Linked DNA regions of Homo sapiens: region 1 is linked to region 2. Evidence: promoter capture Hi-C in human tissues and cell types (Jung and others, 2019). All regions are on one chromosome and are shown on one strand. The core of a region is centred on a gene start or on the middle of the fragment in contact, and the rest is flanking DNA. Distances in the headings are between cores, read along the strand shown. Region 1 holds the start of LOC124904358 (a long non-coding RNA gene). Region 2 holds the start of NETO1 (neuropilin and tolloid like 1).

Evidence for each region. The method cuts DNA at HindIII sites, captures the fragments that hold promoters and counts their contacts. A contact is called where the count stands out against the background at its distance.
Region 1: a fragment that was not itself captured here is called in contact with the fragment with the promoter of NETO1 in region 2 in 1 of the 25 tissues and cell types used here (dorsolateral prefrontal cortex).

The regions. Positions count from the first base shown.
Region 1 is chr18:73,942,189-73,948,959 of GRCh38, forward strand. It overlaps LOC124904358 (a long non-coding RNA gene), which reads left to right and starts at 5,692. Exons shown (of 2, transcript XR_007066470.1): 1 at 5,692-6,163. The HindIII fragment of the contact is 3,980 bases long and covers 3,329-6,771 here.
Region 2 is chr18:72,866,737-72,873,149 of GRCh38, forward strand. It overlaps NETO1 (neuropilin and tolloid like 1), which reads right to left and starts at 1,251. Exons shown (of 11, transcript NM_138966.5): 1 at 528-1,251. The coding sequence starts at 555. It overlaps NETO1-DT (NETO1 divergent transcript), which reads left to right and starts at 1,652. Exons shown (of 2, transcript NR_134648.1): 1 at 1,652-1,726. The HindIII fragment of the contact is 16,969 bases long and covers 1-4,877 here.

The DNA.
Region 1 (6,771 bases), core at 4,069-6,568, 1.1 Mb after region 2:
TCATCATAATAATCCCCGATGCTTCCTCCATGGCAGCATCGCTTTAAGCGCTTTACACAGGTCACATCCCACGGTGGGGGAGGAAGTGTTGGTAGCTTTGCTTTGTAGTAAGTAGCCGAGGCATAGCTATTTTAGTCAAGATCACACAGCCAGTAAATATCACAACTGGGAGAGGAAGCCAGGCAATCCCAGGCCAGGGCACAGGTAGGCACCTGCCACACTATGCACTATGTCAACACCATGCACTATGTCAACACCATCAGAATTGCCTAAAGGCAGCAACTGCACTAAGCAATTTACAGACATGGCTACATTTGGTCTGCACTTCCTGCAACCTTCTAAGATGGATACTCATCCCCTCAACGTACAGGTGAGGAAAATGCAGTTCATAGAGTTAGGATAAGACTGACTCCAAGGTCTGGGCCTTCAACTACTAGGGGGGCAGGGGGCAGGGCACCCCGGTGAACCACCTGCTGCACAAGTCACTTTTAGGGGTTCGCACACCTCAGCATGTGCACCAGAGATGACTACTTCTGCCACACATGAACCGTTAGAAGCTTCCTCCAGTCCTTGGCCTGGCAGTCATTTCCCTAATACGCATTATCGCTGCTCTGAAACCCTTCTGAGAAGTCTGAAAATTTACTTCCACATCAAAATGTGGCCTATTGACACTTTCTCAGGATATCAACTGTATACGCACACATGTAGAAACATACGTACATGCATATGTACACACATGGACCCACACACAAAGGCGCACACACACGCAGAGCACACAAAGCCTAGCCATTTGCCCACGTTAGGGTCACTATGATCATGACTGCCTCCTAATTAGGATGGATTTCCCCAGGAAGAAATGCCTGTTCTGCTGCCTAGCACCCTTCTGTGTTTGTTATTTGGGTTTGGGAACGGAAGCTAGAAGCAGCTGATTTTTTTCACATAAGGATAAAGGTTGGAATTCATGAGAAGACCAAGGAAGCGAGAGGCTGGGAAGATGACAGAGGCCACAGGTATGCAACATTACCTCTCCCAAGGGCCTCCAGATCCGAAGGCAGGCCCATTATATATTTGGATGCTTCTGGGTGTGCTGTCTTTTGGGGGAGTGGGGGCTATAGGAAGGGACTGGGATCTATTTCAAAGTAGTATGGTTAAGAAGCAGTCCTTGAGCATCACGAAGCCAAGGAGGCAAGTTGAGCTTCCTGGACCCTCATGGGTGTCCTGGGGGGAACCTGAGACCTGTAACATGCCACGGAATTAGTGAGTGTTCCAGCCAGTGTTGCCCGGAGCCAGAGGGGAAGGCAGGGGCCTGTGGCCTGGCCTCTCAGTTGCAGTTCCACAGAAAGGGCTCACATGGGGCTCAGGGACTTTGAGTATTAAAAAATGAAAGAACATAGGGGCTCAGGTGAAGACAGCAAGTTTCTCCCATGAAAAGCCTTCACCCTGCTCATGCCTCCGGAGAAGGAAAGGCACGGCCACCAGACTGTGCCCTTTCTACCAATTCACGGGGCCCACAGGCTCCAGTTACTCTTCCTCCTCATCAAGCCCCCATGAAGCGTGTAACAGGTGCTTGTTTTAAATACCTCTTTACTGCACTAAAGGACTTGCCTGCCAGACATTTCAAACCTCCCAGAGGGCCCATCCACAGACACAGCATCCTTTGGAGGGCTGTGCAGCCCACGGAGAGTGGTGGAACCATTTGGACGCAGAACACACCAGGGGTGGGAAGCGTTGTCACCTCTCCAACCTGGAAACCAGCCGGCTCCATGGGCTGACCCCCTCCCTCTCTTCAGTAGCACCGCCGCCAACTTCCAGTCCATCATCCCCAGAGGGGCCCTGGCTGTCTTGCTAAAATAATAATGCCAGTTTTGCCAACAAACCCGGTGGATCTCTCACTTCGAATGAACAATCACATTTACAAACCTGCACCATCTGGCCTCAGTCCATCCTCCCACCTCCTTCCCCACGGCTCCACCCACACCACAAAGTCCCTCCACTAAGCCCTCTCCACAGCCAAGGCCCCCTCCCCACCGTTGTCATGCTGTTCCTTCTTCCTTTAATGTTCTTCTCTACTTATTTGCCTGTCAAATTCATTTTTATCATTCCAGATCCAGATGTTAACTCCTCCATGAGGATTTCTTCTCCTACACTCTTTCAAAGATACTCATTTACTAACCCCGTCTGCTAGATGGCCATAATAATTTGTTAAAACTTATATTATATTATACTTTCAACCTCTAGAGTCTGGATACATGTATAGATAGGTAGAGAGAGACAGGGATTTACATATATACATATTGATTAGCATATGTATATTGATAAATATATAGAGAGAGATTTTATATATATATATATATATATATATATATATATATATATTTCTACCTCTAGACAAGAATGAAGTATGCTTAACTCTGTATCCTCAGTGCTAACTGCGACACCCAGTATGTGCTAAGTATTTGGAAATGCTTTGTGAAAGAACGAATTGATATATGGAAGGATGCCATTCAGGTTTATGAACACAACTAAACACAGTTACCCTCCTGTGAAAAGAAGGCATACAAATCAAGGAAGAAAGTCTGGGAGAAGCTTTCTTGTCTTGAAGGACAGTTTAGCACCATGACTAAGAATACAGGTTATGAAGATTGAATGACTGGGTTTAAATCCTTCTTTCACATTGACTAGCTATTTCCTCCACACCTCACTGTCCTCATCTGAACCATGTGGGTGACTGATAATAGCACCTGCCTCCTAGGGTTACTGGGAGGATTAAATGAGCTGATGCCCGTGGGGAACTTAGGCCCCCACACCTAGGCCCTCAAATCTAGAGCAGTGTGTACTCCATGCATGCCCCTGTTATTATTACCTTACTGCCTCTCCCCTGCCTTGATGTTCCAGGAATTCTCCTCTCCCCAAGGTTCATAATAATTCACAGTGGGAGCTTGTGGACATCAAGGTGACTCAAATCTTCAAAAGGAAACAAGATGAATGCCAGAGTTTATTTAAATGAGTATAGGTCCTGGATTTATTTTTCTTCCTGAGTCATTGCCCTGAGAGGATGACAAATAGGAAGCAAAGCCATTTTAAGACATGGCACTGCAGAGTTTGGGACAGCTCAGACCCATTTGGCCTCAGTAACTGGAGTTTTCCCATGAAAGTAGTCAATCTGAGAACAAGAATGTTCACTCGTTCCAGAAAATGGATTGAGTACATACTCCAGACCATGCCATGGTTTTATACACTACTCCCTGCTCCACACCACCAGGCCATGAGTGTACAGTCTTGGCCATGCTTCACATCAGGCCATGAGTGCATAGTGTACACCGTGCTTCAAATCAGATGATGAGCACATAGTCTACACCATGCTCCATGCCAGGCCATAAGCACATAGCCTAGGCCATGCTCCATACCAGGCCATGAGTGCACAGCCTACACCATGCTTCATATCAAGTGATGAGCACAGAGTATACAGCCTACCCCATACCAGGTCATGAGTGCACAGCCTACGCCATGCTTCAAACTAGATGATAAGCACATAGTCTACACAATGCTCCATACCAGGCCATGAGTACATAATCTAGGCCATGCTTCACACCAGGCCATAAGCACATAGTCTACACCATGCTTCAAATCAGATGATGAGTGCATAGTCCAACACCATGCTCCATACCAGACCATAAGCACATAGTCTAGGCCATGCTCCATACCAGGCCATGAGTGCACAGCCTACACCACGCTTCAAACTAGATGATAATCACATAGTCTACACCATGCTCCATACCAAGCCATGAGTACATAATCAGGGCGATACTCCACACCAGGCCATGAGCCCATAGTCTACACCATGCTTCATATCATATGATGAACACATAATCTACACCATGCTGCATACCCAACAATGTGCTACATTTTGAGATGCACAGGTGAACAAAATGGCACCCCTGACCTTGTAGAGCTTAGTCTAGCAAAGGAGAAGAATATTCATGTTTGTATTAAATACCATAAGGAAAGTACTCCATGCACAATGAGGATCTAGAGCAGAGTGACCTTCCCTAGGATTAAGAGTTAGAGAAGCTTTTCTGCAGGTGACACGTGAGCAGAAACCTGACAGCTGGGAAGGAGTTAACTAGGATAAGAAGGGAAGGTGCACTCTCCAGGGGAGTCAGAATTAGCACAGGTGCTAGAAGCCAGGGAGCTTGCACAGACGCTTCCGGGACATTTGTTTACAATGGAGGAAGAAGGCCAAGGGAATGCAGGCCATGTAGAAGATTTTTTTCCTTCTCCTAAGAATAATGGGAAATGACTGAAAGTTTTAAGCAAAGTTGTGACTGCTTTCCTTCACAGAATGGAAGAAATGGTGGAGAAAATCACCTTTGTGGCCCCATAGGAAAATCAAGACTACATTGGAGGTACTGGATAAGTGATGTTACGCAAAAACAAAGAATTCTGGATGGAGCTTACATTGAGTGTAAAACAACCTAATGAAAGAGAAAACTCTGACAGAGCTGCCTGTCACATTCATCACCCTCTTTGGTACTTTGAGCTTGGATTCCATGTACTCTCTGAAGGTCAATGTGACCTCCAGCCTACGAGGTACTGGAGGCCCCTCGTCACCTGTGATGAGCTGCACTGCTGTCCAATTTAGTTTAACTGCTGGTAGGGGATCATTTTTCTTTTGGAAGCTTCTTGTTTTAGTTATTCCAATCAAATATATCATCTCTTGCTTACTTTGGAGGTTATCTCTGTCTACTAGAATGTCATTCATTACTGCTCACAGAATTTTTATTAATAAATGCTCACTACAGTTCATATTTCTTACTCAAACACATTTAATTTGTGTTCACAGGAAGCTTGCTCTGCTTGCTGTCACTGTTGTTTGCTCTACTGAGGATTAAAGCCACCTATTTATTTATTTCCTCCATTAGCCACCTGAGAGCAGGCTAAAGAGTAGGCAACTAGAAGAAAAAAATGCCTTCTACACCATTATATTTTCCATTTTTCTGCCATTTTCTTATTCCCCCTTCATTCATCACTTATTCTGCCTTTCAAAATACCCATGTTCACTGACCCCAACAGCTAAATAACTTCATAAACTTTCATCTATTTTCTGAAGCTTCCTCCCACATGCCTACCGTGAAATCATTCGCCACCAAGCCACCTCCTCCACAGACATTTTCAGAACAAATGAATACACACAGCCTTTTTTTTTGTTGTTTGCTTTTTTGGCCTAGACAGACCACAGATCCCTAAATAGAAGTAAGAAAATATATTCACTAAAGAACATCAAAACCAAGATACATCACGTACCATGTAAAGCTGGCCACTAAATTGAGCAGTAATTTTACCACAAACAGAAATGATGAATATGTTTTTCAAATGAAAAACTCCTGACAGAGAGGCTATAAAAATCACATTACTATTGTTACATATTCATGTGACTAGAAATGCATCAATAAAGAGACATTCAAGAGGCCATATATTCTATACATATGGAGACCATATGTCTCAAGTTTTCTGGGAAAGAAATATTATGTCCTGTGTACCCATATGCACAGTCATCCTTGCTGGGCCATGTGTCCCAAATTTTGTCTGAGAAAATATGGCCACTATAGCTAACATAAACAGTTACTGCAAAACCCAAGGGATGTAGCTGGTGACGCGTGTAACTACAGTCGCTGCAGCAGGGGTTTTTGAGAGAGAAGGCACAGGAAGCAGCTCCAGGATGCAAGGATAGAGTCTCTTATAATTATCACAGGATATGGAAGAGCAAACAGTACCTTTTTTAAACTTTTCAAAGGTAGTGGTGCAGAAAAGAAACAATTTGAAGCAATCAGAGGCATGTTGCAGCAAAAATGTTTTGCAGCCAGCATTTTCAAAAACATTTGCATTGGAGGAAAGCTCACCCTGGCATTGTGGAATTAGCAATTAAAGAACAGAAATAGCTAGACCATTGTAAATGAAGTTAATGAAGACTTTAAAGGCTGAACACTGACAGTGGCAGACGACAGGCAGCGTGGAGTGACTTGGGGGGGTGCAGCACTCAGACTGGCAATTCTGATGATCTATTCACATGGTCGGGAGTGACCTGGGACAAATGGACAAGAATGGGCTTTTTCCTAGCTACACTGGAGATGACAGGACTGCCTGTTAATATCAGGATTCTGCTGTGAGTTTACCTGACTATAATTTCTTTGCTAGCATGTGTATTTATGTCTAAATTAACCATTGGGTCAAGTACCAATAATTCTTTTTAATACTGTTAGAGCAGGAAAGGGAGAAGGAACGAACAGAGGCAGCTCTAGGGCAACAAAGGTTTATTGAACAAAGATTTGCGGAGGGGGACATCAGCTAGCACCAGAGCCCACACCCCCTTACAGGCTGGGGTAATTATAGTTCCAGGAGGGAGAGGTCTGGGCTTGTTGGGAAATGGGGTGGGCAGTGTGGTTAGCTGATGATAAGGGAGGAATTTCCTGGGGTCAGGCAGTTAGGCCTGGGACTTGTCTGGAAAGTCCCAGGATGTTTCTTATGTGGCCTGAGCCCTAGTGGAATTTTCCATTCTGACCAGGGTTTGCAAAATGGCAGGGGTTTACAAAATGGTGCAGCTTGGACTGTCAAATACCTTCATAAGAAATTAAAGTTAAAAGTTTAGCTTCCGGAATCGTCTGCCCTGCTTCAAGACCCAGCTTCACCAACTACAAAGTGTTACTTAGACTCATTAAGCTTCAGTTTCCTCATCTATGAGATGGAAAAGAATTCTAGTAGCTATCTATGAAA
Region 2 (6,413 bases), core at 1-2,500:
ACCACACACCCATAAAGCGACATCAGCGGTCTCCAGGGCGGAAAGGGGTGGAAGCTGACCCTCGCCCTTCCCTCCAGCGCTGGCTTCAGGTGTGCCTTCTGCTACCTCCTGTACTGCGAACAGGGGCCCGCCGAGCTCCGGGAGCCCCTAGAAGAGGAAGACTCCTCTGGCCCCACTAGGTATCATCCGCGCTCTCCCGCTTTCCACCTGCGCCCTCGCTTGGGCCAATCTCTGCCGCACGTGTCCATCCCTGAACTGCACGCTATCCTCCACCCCCGGGGGGTTCCTGCGCACTGAAAGACCGTTCTCCGGCAGGTTTTGGGATCCGGCGACGGCTGACCGCGCGCCGCCCCCACGCCCGGTTCCACGATGCTGCAATACAGAAAGTTTACGTCGGCCCCGACCCGCGCGGGACTGCAGGGTCCGCCGGAGCGCGGCGCAGAGGCTTTTCCTGCGCGTTCGGCCCCGGGAAAGGGGCGGGAGGGCTGGCTCCGGGAGCGCACGGGCGCGGCGGGGAGGGTACTCACTGTGAAGCACGCTGCGCCCATGGATCATGTCTGTGCGTTACACCAGAGGCTCCGGGCTCCACTAATTCCATTTAGAGACGGGAAGACTTCCAGTGGCGGGGGGAGGACAGGGTCGAGAGGTGTTAAAGACGCAAAGCAAGAAGGAAATAAAGGGGGGCCGAGAGGGAGACCGAGAGGAAGGGGGAGCTCCGAGCCCACGCTGCAGCCAGATCCGGATGAGTCCGTCCTCCGCCCCGGGCGGGCTCTCGCTCTCGCTGGCCCTCAGCGCCGCGCAGCCAGCAGCATCCCCACCGTGACGCTCGCATCACACCCGGGCGCCGGCCGCCACCATCCGCGCCGCCGCCGTCAGGACCCTCCTCCCGGGCATCGTCGCCGCCGCGGGGTCGGGAGGACGCGGCGCGCGGGAGGCGGCGGTCGCAGGGCGAGCCCCGGGACGCCCCGAGCCGGGGCCGGGGCCGGGGAGAGGGCGCAGCGAGGTGGGGGCCAGTCCAGACCGACGGCAGCGACGGAGCGGGCGGCGGCGGCGGCGCCGGCGGCGGCGGGGTGGCTCAGTCCCCAGTCTCAGACGCGCCGCGCAGCAGGTCGGAGCAGCCTCCCCGGGAGGATGTCCAGCGGCAGCGCTCCTCGCTCCAGCCCTTGGGGATCTTCCGCTGAGGCATTGAAGGCAGGAAGAAGGGGTCCGTCATCGGCTCGCCGGGCTGCGCGCCACCTCTGCTATCTTGCGGAAAGAGGAGCGGGTGGGTGGGCGTCTGGGAGGCGGGCTGGAGGGCGGTGCAGGGGAGCGGGGCGGCCGGGGGGGGGGCCGGGGGGCGGGGAAGGGAGGGAGGAGAAAGGAGCCGGAAGAGGGCAGAGTTACCAAATGGGCTCCTTAGTCATGGCTTGGGGCTCCACGACCCTCCTGGAAGCCCGGAGCCTGGGTGGGATAGCGAGGCTGCGCGCGGCCGGCGCCCCGGGGCTGGTGCGCGGCAGAATGGGGCCGCGGCGGCGGCAGCAAGGACATCCCAGCCGCGCGGATCTGGGGGAGGGGCGGGGAGGGGGTGAGGACCCGGCTGGGATCCGCGGCTCGGCCCGCCAGGGCGCAGAGAGAGGATGCAGCCGCAAATCCCGAGCCGGATCCTCGTGCCGGACGGAAGGCGTGGAAGCGGGAGGGGCCTTCGTGTGAAAATCCCTTGTGGGGTTTGGTGTTTCACTTTTTAAAGGTTAGACCTTGCGGGCTCTCTGCCTCCCACCCCTTCTTTTCCATCCGCGTAAAGGAACTGGGCGCCCCCTCTCCCTCCCTCCCTGGGGCGCAGGTTTCGCCGCGGACTCCGCGCTCAGCTTGGGAGACACGGCAGGGGCGCGCCCCAGGGAAAGGCGGCCGTAAAAGTTTCGCGGTTGAGCACTGGGCCTGATGTCCAGTCCCCCCACCAAATTACTCCTGCAAAGACGCGGGCTTCTTGCAATTGAGCCCCCCACCTCGAGGTATTTAAAACCACCCCAAGGCACACACGGACCCCCGTTCCCCCGCGCCACTTCCTCCTACAGGCTCGCGCGGCGCGTTAAAGTCTGGGAGACACGAGTTGCGGGGAAACAGCACCGGAAGAGCCCGGGCTTGTAAAATGCGAATCAATGAATACGAAATAAGGGCAACCGCGAGGCAGCGCCGGGAAGGGCTGGAGCGCGCGGGGGTGCAGGGAGTCCCTCCCTGGGCGCCGCAACGGCACCTCCTCCCTTTCCCGGCTCCGTCCCGCCCTCCCTCGGCCTCTGCGGACGCGACCCACGCAGACCACAGCCGAGCCCGCCGGACCCCGGGACTACGGAAGCCATCCCGTCCGGCCACCCACACCCGCGCCGCGGCTGGGGCTTGGGTTGGGGACTGTGGCGGCGAAGAAGCCGGGGTAGGAAGAGCTAATGGCAATGGCGGGGTCGCCGGGGGGCGGGGGGTCAGCAGCAGACGCTGAGCTGTGAAGACTAGGGTGGCCCCGAAAGGCCGAGGAAAGGAGAAAGGGCCATGAGAAGAGTCTGGCGAGCGCTCGAGGCCGGGGGGCTGCCTCCCGGCTCTGGCCCGGCCTCCGCTTCCCGGCACCTGCTGCTGGGGCGCCCACGTGCGCGCGGGGCTGCGCGGGGCGTTGGGTGCTCGTCGCAGTCCTGCCCACGCCTAGCGCAGCGGCTGTGAGTGGGTGGAGGTCTCCTGCCAGTAAGTTGGGATGAGGGACGATGAGGTGACCCCCAAGTCTGGAAGGGATTCAGAGTCTCACACGCGCCCCCAAGCCTCCTACCACCACACCAAAGTGCTGGTTCCTCGATTTCCAGGGTGGGGTAAAGTGACCGAGCAAAGGGGATGGTGTGTTTGTGTGTGCGCGCGCATATACGCGCGCGCGTGTTGTGCATCCGTGTAATGAAAGTTGGGTCATGGGTCAACCCGGGAGTAGAGCGAGATGGAGACCTAAAGAGAGAAAGCTGAGAGAAGGGGGAAGACATGGACAGGGTAAGAGAGAGAGAAAGGAGAGAGAGAAGAAAGGGAAAAGAGGAGCGGGGAGAGAAAAGAGAGGCAGGAGAGAGAATGAGGGGACAGAAGAGAGTAGGGAGACGAGAAGGCGGAGGACAGAAGAAATGGGGGAGAGGGAAGAGGACAGAGAGGCTGCGCGCCTCTGAATACGCCAAGTCCAGCAGAGCTGGAGGCCTGTGAGAGGAGCTGCAAGCTTGAGCAAAGGGAGAGAGGTGAGCGGATGAAGGGAGATTGGTGAGTATCCGCCCACGCACCTACTTGTAAAAAGATCAAGGGGAAACACGCAGAAGGTCCCGCGGGAGTCCTGTGACCCACGTGAGGTGCTCGTGCCAGCGCGGGGTGGGAGGTGGTGGGCAATGTTCGTCGTGGAGTTGAGGAAGAAATTCTCCAGCCTTAAGGAAGCAAAAGAGTTCAAAGATCAGTGAGGCTGCTCAACAGAGGGATATGCAGATGACAGAATGCTTGGAAAACGCTTTTGGGGATCCGGGTCATCTATAGAGGAGAGGGTGGAGGTCTTGCAAAAGGACCAGTCGCAAGAGTTGACAGTTGAATGTTGGAATCTTTCTTATGGTTGGATGGCACTTTCTTTACATCCAAAATATGCGTTATTCGTGAAGATGACACAGTTCTACAAAGAAAGTGGCAACATTTAAAATTATTTGTAGAAAGTTACTGCATTTCTCAATCACAGTTTGAAGGCAGAGAAAACTTGGTTTTACCATAAATGCTCTCATTCACCTGCCCTCTTCTGTCCTCTTTGCCCAGAACAGTTTCCCAGGACACTGGGATTTTGTAACCTGCCAAGGAAGGGGCTACGTTGCTAAACAAGTAGTCCTTTTATGGGACACAGGAAATTAGGAAGGAACTCATAAGGAAGGTGAAAGGGTCCTAACCTTTTGTCCACGCCTGTATTTGAAATCAAATATCTTGCATAAACAGTGGTCTCCATTTTTTTTCTTTTTTTAATGAATTAAAGGCTGGAGCGCAGTGACTGGATCACAGCTTGCTGCAGCCCCAACTTCCTGGGCTCAACTGAGCTTCCCACCTCAGCCTCTGGAGTAACTGGGACTACAGGCACAGGCCATCATGCCTGGCTAATTCTTTTATTTTTTATATTTTTTAGAGAGGGGGTCTAGCCATGTTACCCATGCTGTTCTCAGACTCCTGGCCAAAAGTGATCCTGTGGCCTCCCGCTGATCTTTAATGCCCAGTGCTTTCTCGGGCAATGCGTGGGGCTGAGGCATTAAATTTTGCTGAAACCTCAGTGCTGAGGGAGTGAGTGTGCACGTTCTGGACCTAGGACAGGACAGAGGCCTGGCTAGCTCAGGTGCTCTGATAATCAACCAAGAGACTGGGCCAACACAGATGCTGAGGCCCGCGCTGCACTCTCCTACTCTTTCCAGGCTGCAAGTGTAGCATTGTTATTGACAATTCCATTCATTTTTCTTCATACACACCCATACACGCTTTTCACCATCCACTACATCCTGTTTACTTGGCAAGCTGCCTTCTCATTTTTGAGTTCCAGAATCCACACTTGCTGAGTAATGCTACCTCCCTAATAGGGACCCATAAGATTTTTCTTTCTGAGAAAAAACAACATATGGGAAAAGTTCAGTTTCTCCCAGAAAAGGTTGCGCAAACATATGGTCAAATTACAAGATGATGTCGTTATTTTGAAAGGAAGAGCATATAAACTGATAGCTTTTGTGAGTTGAGTGTGCCATCCTGGAAGATGGTGCTTTGTCGCAGTTCCCCAAGGTTAGCATTGAAATAGTGACTACTATAGAAGATGGTGCAGAATTAAAGCCACTTGAACCCAATGAAGGTGTCATTAGTAAGTTGGTTTTATTTCTCAGCTTGCAGCTTCCTAACAATGAAAGATCATATGGACTTCCAAAATCCTAAAAAGAATTGGCGTAGGGTACAAGCCCTTCTAATTCAAATGCACATAGTATTTGTCTACATACATGTACTTCTCTATAGGAAAAAATAAAGCTACAGTTCTACCAGGGCTCCTTTGTTAATTAATCTCCAGTACTGGCATCATCTTAAAAGTTGTCTATCAGTAAAAGAGGTGATGCTACAAAAAATAACTCAAATGTAATAGTGCTAATGACACATCCATATTACAATAATATTTTCTGATTTTTACATAATTTATTTACATGGTTGTGAAGTGTAAAGGTTTTTGCATTTAACAATATATGTCATAATACTAGTTTCTCAAAAACAAGTAATTTGCTGGTAAATATAGGAATGTTTTTTGAAAATTCTCTGAAATAGTCTAACATGAAGCTGGTTTTAAGCAATATTGAAGAAGCTCTCTTCAAAAAATCTATAGGAGTATCCTAACGCAGTAGAAAGTCTCCACGAAATAGAAGACCTGTCAAAATCTCTGAAATCTTACATTTAAACCAAACAGGATATTTTATGATCACCACTAGGGAAAAATAAAATATAGTTTTGTTAGAAGTACAAATATATTGTATTCTTAGGCAGCACAAGAATGTTTGCCTCTTGTGGGAAAGAACTTTCATAGCACTTCCTTTGCCAGTTAGCACTTTCAGATACATGATCCTTCAATCCATATCAAAACTTCAGAAAAAAAATTTTCATTTTGATTGATATTTACTTCGCAGTGGCTTATAAAAATAATACCAATTATTTTTATGATCACTCGACTAATTATAAGCTCATCCTCTATAAATCAACATAAACTTCAGGAACATTTACGAAGATACACCCCAAGATTAAAAGTGTAAAGGCTCTGTACAGAAGCCACCTTTATAGTATAAGTATTGTACCACAAAGTCCACGCACTGCTATTTCAGGGAAAAAACAAGTTTCCACTCCTAGAAGACGGCATATTTGGAAAATATAAGCTAAACTAAAGGGTAAATCTACATATTCCATGTCAAAATAACCATTAATAAATACAAACAAAATGTTACTTCAGTGTGCTAAATCAGACATGTGAAAGTTTCTCATGGGTTAGACATACTTTGTGTGTGCGTGTGTGTGTGTGCGTGTGTGTGTGTGTTGAAGTCTCGCCCTGTTGCTCAGGCTGGAATGAGGTGGCACGATCTCGGCTCACTACAACCTCTGCTCCCTGGGTTCAAGCCTGCCACAACCTCCAGAGTAGCTGGGATTACAGGTGTGCGCCACCACGCCCGCACAATTTTTTTTTATATTTTTAGTAGAAACAGGGTTTTGCCATGTTGGCCATGCTGGTCTCAAACTCCTACCATCAGGTGATCAGCCCGCCTCAGCCTCCCAAAGTGCTGGGATTACAGGTGTGAGCCACAGCGCCCAGCCTTTTTTCATAATTATATAAGTTAATAGCATCACATAAACTTAATAACTTTGGCTATTTAGCACATACTTTAATCTTATTA